Regions from separate parts of the Homo sapiens genome. Here region 2 is linked to region 1. Evidence: promoter capture Hi-C in 16 types of primary human blood cells and fetal thymus (Javierre and others, 2016). All regions are on one chromosome and are shown on one strand. Each heading gives the region's core, a stretch centred on a gene start or on the middle of the fragment in contact. The rest is flanking DNA. Distances are from core to core; before and after follow the strand shown. Region 1 holds the start of MCPH1 (microcephalin 1). Region 2 overlaps ERI1 (exoribonuclease 1).

Region 1 (4,331 bases), core at 1,832-4,331:
ACACATTTTGTTAAGTGGATCTATAAACCTTTATTTCTATTTAGTGAGTTACTCTAAACCTTGTCTTTTCTCCTGTTAACCTGTTGTTATCAGTTAATTTGCAGGTCTTCAAACACAGGACCGACATTGAATGAGGAAAAGCTTTCCTTCCAACATAGACAATACGACTACCTGTAGAACATCATTTTGAATGTACAAAAAATTATTAAGCAGATTTAGCAAGTTTTCAGGACATGAGATCAATTGCAGATATCAACTATATTTCCATATATTAGCAACAATCAGAAACAAATGAAAAAATCACCATTTACGATATTATCAAAAAACACAAGACCTTGCACAGTGGCTCATGCCTGTAATCCCTACACTTTGGGAAGCTGAGGTGGGAGGATTGCTTGAGCCCAGGAGTTCAAGACCAGCCTGGGCAACATAGTGGGACTCCGCCTCTACAAAGAATTTAAAAAATGAATTGGGCATGGTCATGTGTACTTGTAGTCCCAGCTACTCAGGAGGTTGAGGTGGGAGGATAGCTTGATCCCAGGAGGGTCGAGGCTTCAAGATGAGCCATGATCACACCATTGCACTTCAGCCTGGGAGACAGAGTGAGATCCTGTCTCAAAAAAAAAAAAAAAAAAAAAAGAAGAAAAAAAGAAAAACAAAATAAAAAAACAAATACTTAGGTTAAAATCTAACAACAGTTATATTTTTTTTTTTTGAGATGGAGTCTCGCTCTGTTGCCCCAGGTGGAGTGCAGTGGCAAGATCTCTGCTCACTGCAAGCTCTGTCTCCCGGGTTCATGCCATTCTCCTGCCTCAGCCTTCCAAGTAGCTGGGGCTACAGGCGCATGCCACCACGCCCGGCTAATTTTTTGTATTTTTAGTAGAGATGGGGTTTCACTGTGTTAGCCAGGATGGTCTCAATCTCCTGACCTTGTGATCGGCCCGCCTTGGCCTCCCAAAGTGGCAGGCGTGAGCCACTGCGTCTGGCCAGAGAAATTTTAAAAGACCTAAATGTTAATGGGTCAGAAGATTCAATATGGTTAAAATGTCAATTCTCCCCAAATTCATCTGTAGAGTCAACACAATCTCAATCAAAATCCCAGCAGTATTTTTTTGTGCAAAATGAGAAGTCGACTCTAAGATTTAAAAGGAAATCTGAAGAATCTAGAAGATACAAAATAACCTTGAAAAATAAAGTTGTAGGACATAAACTATCTGATTTCATCACTTATTTATATAGCTACAATAATCAAAACAGCATGGTGCTGGCAGCAAAAAGACAAATAGCTCAATGGAACACAATAGGAAGCCTAAAATGAAACACATACATATGCAACACAGATTTTGATGTAAGCACAAAGGAAATGCAGTAGAGACAAAAATAACTTTTTAATAAATGATGCTGGAACATTTGGATATGTATACATGCAAAAAAATGAACTTTGGTCCCTATCCCATACCGTATACAAAAATTAATTAAAAGCAGATCTTATCCTTTGAGTCCAGTAGGTTGAGGCTGCAGTGAGCTGTGATTACACCACTGCATTCCAGCCTGGGCAACGGAGTGAGAAACTGCCTGGAGAAAAAAAAAAAAAAAAGTAGAACCTAGACCTGATATACAACCTAAAGCAGTAATATTTCTAGAAGAAATCCTAGGAGAAAATATTTGTGATCGTGGAGATGAAGAATCTATCAAATACTAAACTTTTTTTACCACCTTGACCAAAAGTAATTGGTTTATATACTTCATCATATCATTTAATTCAAAATCTACAGAGATCAATGTCACTTTCTCAGTAAAAGTACGTGAGTCTTCAATGATGCCCTGAACTCACACTCCCAAGTAAACCATAACACCATATTTCCAGAGTAGAGTTTATTAGAACAATAACTGGTGATAATGATAAATATTGATCAAAGACTGAGCCTAGGAAGTGGGTTTTTTGAGGCTGCATATACTCAAGGCAATTCTTCAGAACCACAGAGGGCTCATTGGATCCTATTAAAAGCTGAGAGTGAATGAATAAACAGATAAAACAGAGACCTGAGTAGACGGTAGTCGATATTCTTTTACATGTATTCTACCTCTAGATTCCATAGAAAGAACTAAAAGTACATGAATTTCACTACCAACATCTCCATCAGTTACCAGCTGTATCACCTTGGATCAGTCAGGTAACCTCCCGCGAATCTGGTTGCTTCCGGGGCAGGGGATCCGCGGGCTGCAGGTTTGAGCCTGGTTGCCGGCAGGGTGGAGCAGCTGGAGGGCCAAGCCTTTGAGCTCCAGGGGGGGTGGCCGGGACAGTGGGTAGTGCCAGCCGATCGGCGTCCTGGGGATTGCCTGAATGTGAGGTCTGGGTTCACCCCGCGGTGACCTGAGTCCTGGGATGCCCCTACAGGGATTTGCTGCCTCAGGGATCCGAAGTCTCTTTCATTCCCTTACTGGGGATTTGAGGTCTGGAGGTACTCCTGCGGGGGTCTGAGATCTCGGGGTCACCCTGTGGGGGTCTGAAGCCTCGGGGTCCCCGCGTGGGGTCTGAGGTATCAGAGTCCCCTCCGTTGGGTCTGAGGTCTCGGGGTCCCCCATCCCCGGGATCGGAGGTCCGGCTCCCCGGAGCAGGCAGGGCGGTGCGTCTGGCCCTGAACAGTAACGTGGCGCGCCAGCCCCAGGTGGTGTCGGGCTAGGGGGGCATAACGGTGCCGAAAGTCCGCACAAAGCCGTCCGCTGGGGTCCCGCCGCGTCCGCGAGGGAATGACTGTGCCCCCTCCCCTTCCTGATCCTCAGCTCAGGTGAGCCCAGATGAGGCGCCGGGTAGCTTCTAAGTCACTAATGGAAATAGAAGGCTAATTCAGGGGTTAGGGGCCGTCGTCCTCCTTACTCCCAGGAGAAGAGAAAAACCCACGGCCCAGCAGCCAGAGGCGCGGCGAGGCGGAATCGGGCCCCCTCCCCGGGGGCTCAGCTCCCTCCAGCCTCCCGCCTCACCTACAGAGAAATCCCGGAAACGCGGATTCAGCGGAGCGCGGTGACGGCGGCGCGCTCACCCCGCGCATGCCCAGTGCCCGCGCGCGCCGCCAGGCTCGCAAGCACCGCGTAGGCCAGCTGGCCGGATCCCGCCGTCTGTCATGGCGGCCCCCATCCTGAAAGGTGAGGTACTTCCTGCTGCCTGCTCCAGCAGCGGGAGTTTGAGGACCGGCACCCCTCGTCGCGGGCGCACTCGGGGGATCCCGTGGGAGGAGCCCCGCTCGCCCCTCCCTCGCTGCCTGTCTCCCCCAGACCCCCTGCCGCCTCCTTCCTCCCCCGCTGCCTGTCCCACCAAAACCCCCTGCTCCTGCTCTCTCCCCCGCTGCCTGTCCCCCCAAAACCCCCGGCTGCCTGCTTCGTCTCCCGTGCTCCCTGTCCCCCCAAACCCCCGACTGCCTGCTTCCTCCCCCGTACTGCTTGTGCCCCAACCCCCGTGCTGCTAGTTCCCCTCAATCCCCCGCTGCCTGCTCCCTCCCCCATGCTGCCTGTCCCCCAAATCCCGCCTTTCCCCCTACCTGCTTTCACCCCTGCTGCCTTAGTCCCTGGATCTGGGGCTCACTGGCAGGCAGAGTCCTGCCCTCCGGAAGTTGGTGTGGGGCCCTCCTGGGTCTGGTCCTGTTCGACCCCCTCTGAGGCCCACCTGGAGGAGCGGCAGTTGAGTTTCTATGCTAATTGTTCCAATAATAGGAGCCGCCTTTTACTGCGGAGTCTTTGTGTGCCAGGCGCTGTGCTTAGGCTAGTATGGTATTGTCTGATTTTTTTAACCGCTCTATCAACTCTCTTATATCATTTTACAGGCAGAAACTAAGGCATCGGACGTTTAGGTGACTCTCCCTGTGTGTGGCTAGTCAGTGCTGACAGGGCCTTAGACCGGAGCTGCTGTCCTAACCAGTATATGATACCGCACGCAGTCCCACCCTCTGTGCACCTGGAAGAGCCCAGGAGAGGGGAATAGCGGACACGTGTCTTGTAGAGTTTGACCGTGAGAAAAAAGGGGCCTGTATTGTGGGGCCTGGAGTCATAAAACCTCATAGCCAAAAGTAAAGACTAGAGGCTTTATACAAAGTCTGTAATCAGATGTGGCTATTTTTCTAATGTTAGTATTTTGTTAAATTAACCTGGTTTTCTTTTAGCGTTACCCCCAATCATTGACCAACGGCACACCTGGAAAATGCTTTTAAACATCAGGTTTTGAGAAGAGGATATCCACTAGAACAGGGGTCCACTCACTATGCCCCCCAGGCCATATCTAGCCTGCTGCCTGTTTTTGTAAGGGTCTACGAGCTAAGAATGTCTTTTACATTTTTAAG
Region 2 (4,331 bases), core at 1,161-3,660, 2.6 Mb after region 1:
CCTTGGTAATTGCATCTCACACAGTTTTTTCCCTTTTGTTCCCAGTGCCCCTCGCTGCCTTGTGTTCTTTGACATTGGAAAGAAGGTCTCGTTAAGGATCTCTGTATGTTCCTTTTGCCCTGTGTGCACTTCCTTTGGATCCTTGCAATTATCTTTCTCCTTCTAAGGTTGTTATTTCAAAGAGTACTTGCACATCCCTTCTCTTGTAAAGAACCACTCTTCCACCTGCCTCCCTCTTCAGCCTGAGATACGTTGTCAATCTCATCCTGTAAGTGGGTTTTAAAATAAATTTCGAAGTTTATTTTTAGTAAAAGAAGTGTGTTTGAATATGCTTCTTTATATTTGAAAGTCTTGACACTTTTACAGCTACTTAAGGCCTAGGTCTCTGTTCCAAATTGGCTTTAGTGACGGTAGTAATTGTTAAAAACTTACTGTTGCATGCTCTTTATAGTGATACTTTTTTTTTTTTTTTTTTTTTTTTTTACAAAAAGCCGGTCGTAGTTGCCCTCTCCCGTAGTCCCAGCTACTGGGGAGGCTCAGTGGGGAGGATCACCTGAGCCCATGGGTGGAGGCTGCAGTGAGCTGTGATCGTGCCACTGCACTCCAACCTGGGTGACAGAGTGAGACCCTGTCTCAAAAAATAATAGTAATGATACTTTTTTTTTTTTTTTTTTGGAGACGGAGTTTCGTTCTTGTTGCCCAGTCTGGAGTGCAATGGCATGGTCTCAGCTTACTGCAACCTCCCGCCTCCCGGATTCAAGTGATTCTCGTGCCTCAGCCTCCCTAGTAGCTGGGATTACAGGAACCCACCACCACGCTTGGCTAGTTTTTGTATTTTTAGTAGAGATGGGGTTTCACCATGTTGGCCATGCTGGTCTGGAACTCCTGACCTCAGGTGATCCGCCCACCTCGGCCTCCCAAAGTGCTGGGATTACAGGCAATGAGCCACTGCGCCTGGCCATGATACAGTGTTTTTCAATCTGGGCCAAAGTTTTTTGTTGAATTCAGGTGGTAAATTTCCATTATCTCTAATGCTAGTTGTCTTTGTAAACTAGTAGAAGCTATTGCATATTTATATTTTTAATAAGTAGGTTCAGATTTCATCAGAACTCTCCTTTTGGAAGAACGTCAATCAAGAAAAATTCTAAGTTTTTTTTCAGTGTGCAGATGCAGAGGTTTTCCTTTTCTTTTTTTAAAAGGTAGTACCTAGATTTTTGGCAGCAGAATAATAGCATTTCCAGAACATGTTTTCAAAATGTTCTCTATACAGAAAAAGTTTTATTTGACAAGCAGTTACTTTGTAGCTTACTGTTAAAATGTGTTTTCTTTTTTCTTGCAACAACAGATTGTGTTCCTTTAAAAAAATGCTAAAAATCAAGCTCCGGTACCCTTCCCAATAAGAAGAGGACAGCAATTATAGAATACCTGTCTTTTTGTAAAAGAAAATTTGTAACTCATCTTTAAGTTCAACAACAGTTTTTTTATGTTTTTTTTTTTTTTTTTTGAGAGGGAGTCTCTCTCTGTTGCCCAGGCTGGAGTGCAGCGGCTCAGTCTCGGCTCGCTGCAAGCTCCGCCTCACGGGTTCACGCCATTCTCCTGCCTCAGCCTCCTGAGTAGCTGGGACTACAGGCGCCCGCCCGGCTAATTTTTTGTATTTTTAGTAGAGACGGGGTTTCACCGTGGTCTCTATCTCCTGACCTCGTTATCCGCCCGCCTCGGCCTCCCAAAGTGCTGGGATTACAGGCGTGAGCCAACGCGCCCGGCCTCAACGACAGTTTTAAAGTAGTTTGCCACAAGATAGTAAACCTCTGTTTGGTATAGAAGATTTTCATGGCCACATCCCATAATGTAAAAGCTTCTCTTATTTGAGATAATATAAACCATACATCCACTTAATTGAATACGTGAATATTGCAAAATGTTACAGTTCTGTGATGGTGAATGTTTCTCTCCATATTGTGGAATCTATCACTTTTCTCATTATATGGTCCGTATTATATGTGACATGTGATAGGTGGATGTAGTTACTGGTACGGATGCTGATGCAAATGTAAGTATGTATTTCGTAAACTAATTTTGTCTTTCTGCAGATTAACAATACAAGTAGGGTTTTTAGTATTTTCTTTCTGCTCCTTGGCAGATTGATTTGAGCATCCTTCTTTGTGAACCATTAGTGTAGATTTGAAATTTGGGAGGAGACACTGCTTTCTGAGGATTGGACCTCGGCTGTCTCTAGAACTTCACTGAAGGAAGAGAACTAGAGCTGGACCTAGGAAAGGAAGCAAATTTTTCTTTATGGAAGTCATAATTTATAGCATCTATAGAAGAGGCCTAAGTGTTACTTGTGAATAATTTTTCTAGCTACAGTTTAGGATGAGAATTAACCAGTGAATCAGAAAGAGGATTTATCCAAAGAGAAAATCTGCTTAAATTAACTGAGACATCTGTTTTGGTAGACAAACTGTTACTTAATGTTGACCTAAATTTTAACCTGAAATTTACTAAATGATGACTAAAGATGAAGTTTCAAATTCAATGTAAATTTAAAGTCAAAAGATAATTTTTTGTAAAATTCTGGTCAAGCAGAGCAATATCTATTGTAAATCTAATATATTGTTGAAAGTGAATCATTGGTCAACTAGCAATACTTTTTTTTTCCTTAACATTGTTAACAAGGAACCTCAGTGTGGCTGTTCTTTAATTTATGGACAGTTCACACATTGGAACTGCTGACCTCTTCCTCAAAGGAAATGGGTGAGTCACTCTTGAGTACTCTGGCACCTTACCTAGCATTACATTTCCAGTAAATGTGTGTTGCATTAAATTGAGAGCTTAGAGTAAGAAATGGTTCCTGAACCATCAGGATCAGTTCTGAGTTAGGGACTGTGGCCTCTCTGTGATTATCCTTCCTTGATCTATAATTACAGTTTACGTGAGGACAATGTGGTACATTATAACTAAGGTAACAAGCTTTAATAGGGATAATTAGTACTAAATATTTTTCAAAATTATGGAACATAGCTAATATTTGTGATATTGCATGTGGAAAATAACTTACAAATGAATCTTTGGAACTTAACATATTAGTAATTTGAGACTGCCTGTGGAGAAAATAGAATTGAGTCATGTTTTTTCTTAACAGATTTTTATTTATGAAAAAATTCATAATTCTATAGTTCTTCTGGTTAGTGGACCTAAGTACAACTTTTGGAAAATGTAAGTTTTGAAATTAAATACATTTCCTTCTTTGAGTACTAGGAAGCTGTAAATTAGATTTGCGGTCCATTTTGTTTTTATGTTGGGCAATTTTTGTTAACTTTGTGAAATGAAGTCAGGTTAAAAAATTATCAGAAGTTATTACACATGTATAATGTAAAAGTTCATTTAAAAATGGGTTCATTTGTAAATATTAGCATATTGTTTGTGAAGGGCTTGTTGTATAGCCTGTGATATTAATAGTTACCATTTATTAATAGCTACTGTGGGTGTAGGGGTCTGATACACATAATCTCATTTAATCTTTGTAATAATTCTGCCCAAACACTATTTACCATTACCAAATTACCATTTTATAGATAAGGAAATTGAGGATCAGAGGCTAATACGTAGCTATCCAAAGTCATGCTGCTATTTCTAGTAAATAGTCAGCTGGGGTTCTCTATTGAGGTGGTGTTGACTCCCACCACCAGTCTTCTTTTTACTTAGCTTTGTTTCCTTTGAGGAACCTCATGACTCATAATAGAGTGGGGTAAATTGTATTGGAGACGCATCTTCCTTCTTATCCTTTCCTCCGTTTAGGAGCTGCAGTGAACACTTTTCATTGAACATGTAGCATGAAGAGGCTTCAGAAGTTTGAAAGTTTGAATCTTTAAATCTGTGATGTTTGTACTAATTATAAACTACATCCTTTTTTTTTTTTTTTTTTTTTTTTTTTTTGGTAGGAAACTCAACAGTGTAAATTTGATGGCCAGGAGACAAAAGGATCCAAGTTCATTACCTCCAGTGCGAGTGACTTCAGTGACCCGGTTTACAAAGAGATTGCCATTACGAATGGCTGTATTAATAGAATGAGTAAGGAAGAACTCAGAGCTAAGCTTTCAGAATTCAAGCTTGAAACTAGGTAATTAAAAATAACTTATAAAATTATAAAAGTAGTACATGCTCATTTTAGAAAATCTTGAAAACATTGAAATATTAAAAATCATCTGTAATCCTACCGTAATGACATGATCCTATTAACAGTTCACAAAAACTAATTAACATTTTTTATGTGCAACTCTGATTATTTTTGTCTGTCTTCTAGATGATAGGACTGCTGAATCAAAGTCAAA

What was found. Contacts are between HindIII fragments. The CHiCAGO score rates a contact against its expected background, and 5 or more counts as called.
Region 2: a fragment that was not itself captured here is called in contact with the fragment with the promoter of MCPH1 in region 1 in 2 of 17 cell types (naive CD8 T cells and fetal thymus); the score reaches 12.4 in naive CD8 T cells.

Annotation. Positions count from the first base shown.
Region 1 is chr8:6,403,546-6,407,876 of GRCh38, forward strand. MCPH1 (microcephalin 1) reads left to right here and starts at 3,082. Exons shown (of 14, transcript NM_024596.5): 1 at 3,082-3,144. The coding sequence starts at 3,123. MCPH1-DT (MCPH1 divergent transcript) reads right to left here and starts at 3,003. Exons shown (of 2, transcript NR_040040.1): 1 at 2,161-3,003; 2 at 11-1,575. RefSeq lists silencers at 2,824-2,903, 3,164-3,343. The HindIII fragment of the contact is 9,682 bases long and covers 140-4,331 here.
Region 2 is chr8:9,004,029-9,008,359 of GRCh38, forward strand. ERI1 (exoribonuclease 1) reads left to right here. Exons shown (of 7, transcript NM_153332.4): 2 at 3,942-4,120. Among named protein-coding and RNA genes, the nearest start is that of ERI1, 3.3 kb to the left of the region's middle. The HindIII fragment of the contact is 1,115 bases long and covers 1,854-2,968 here.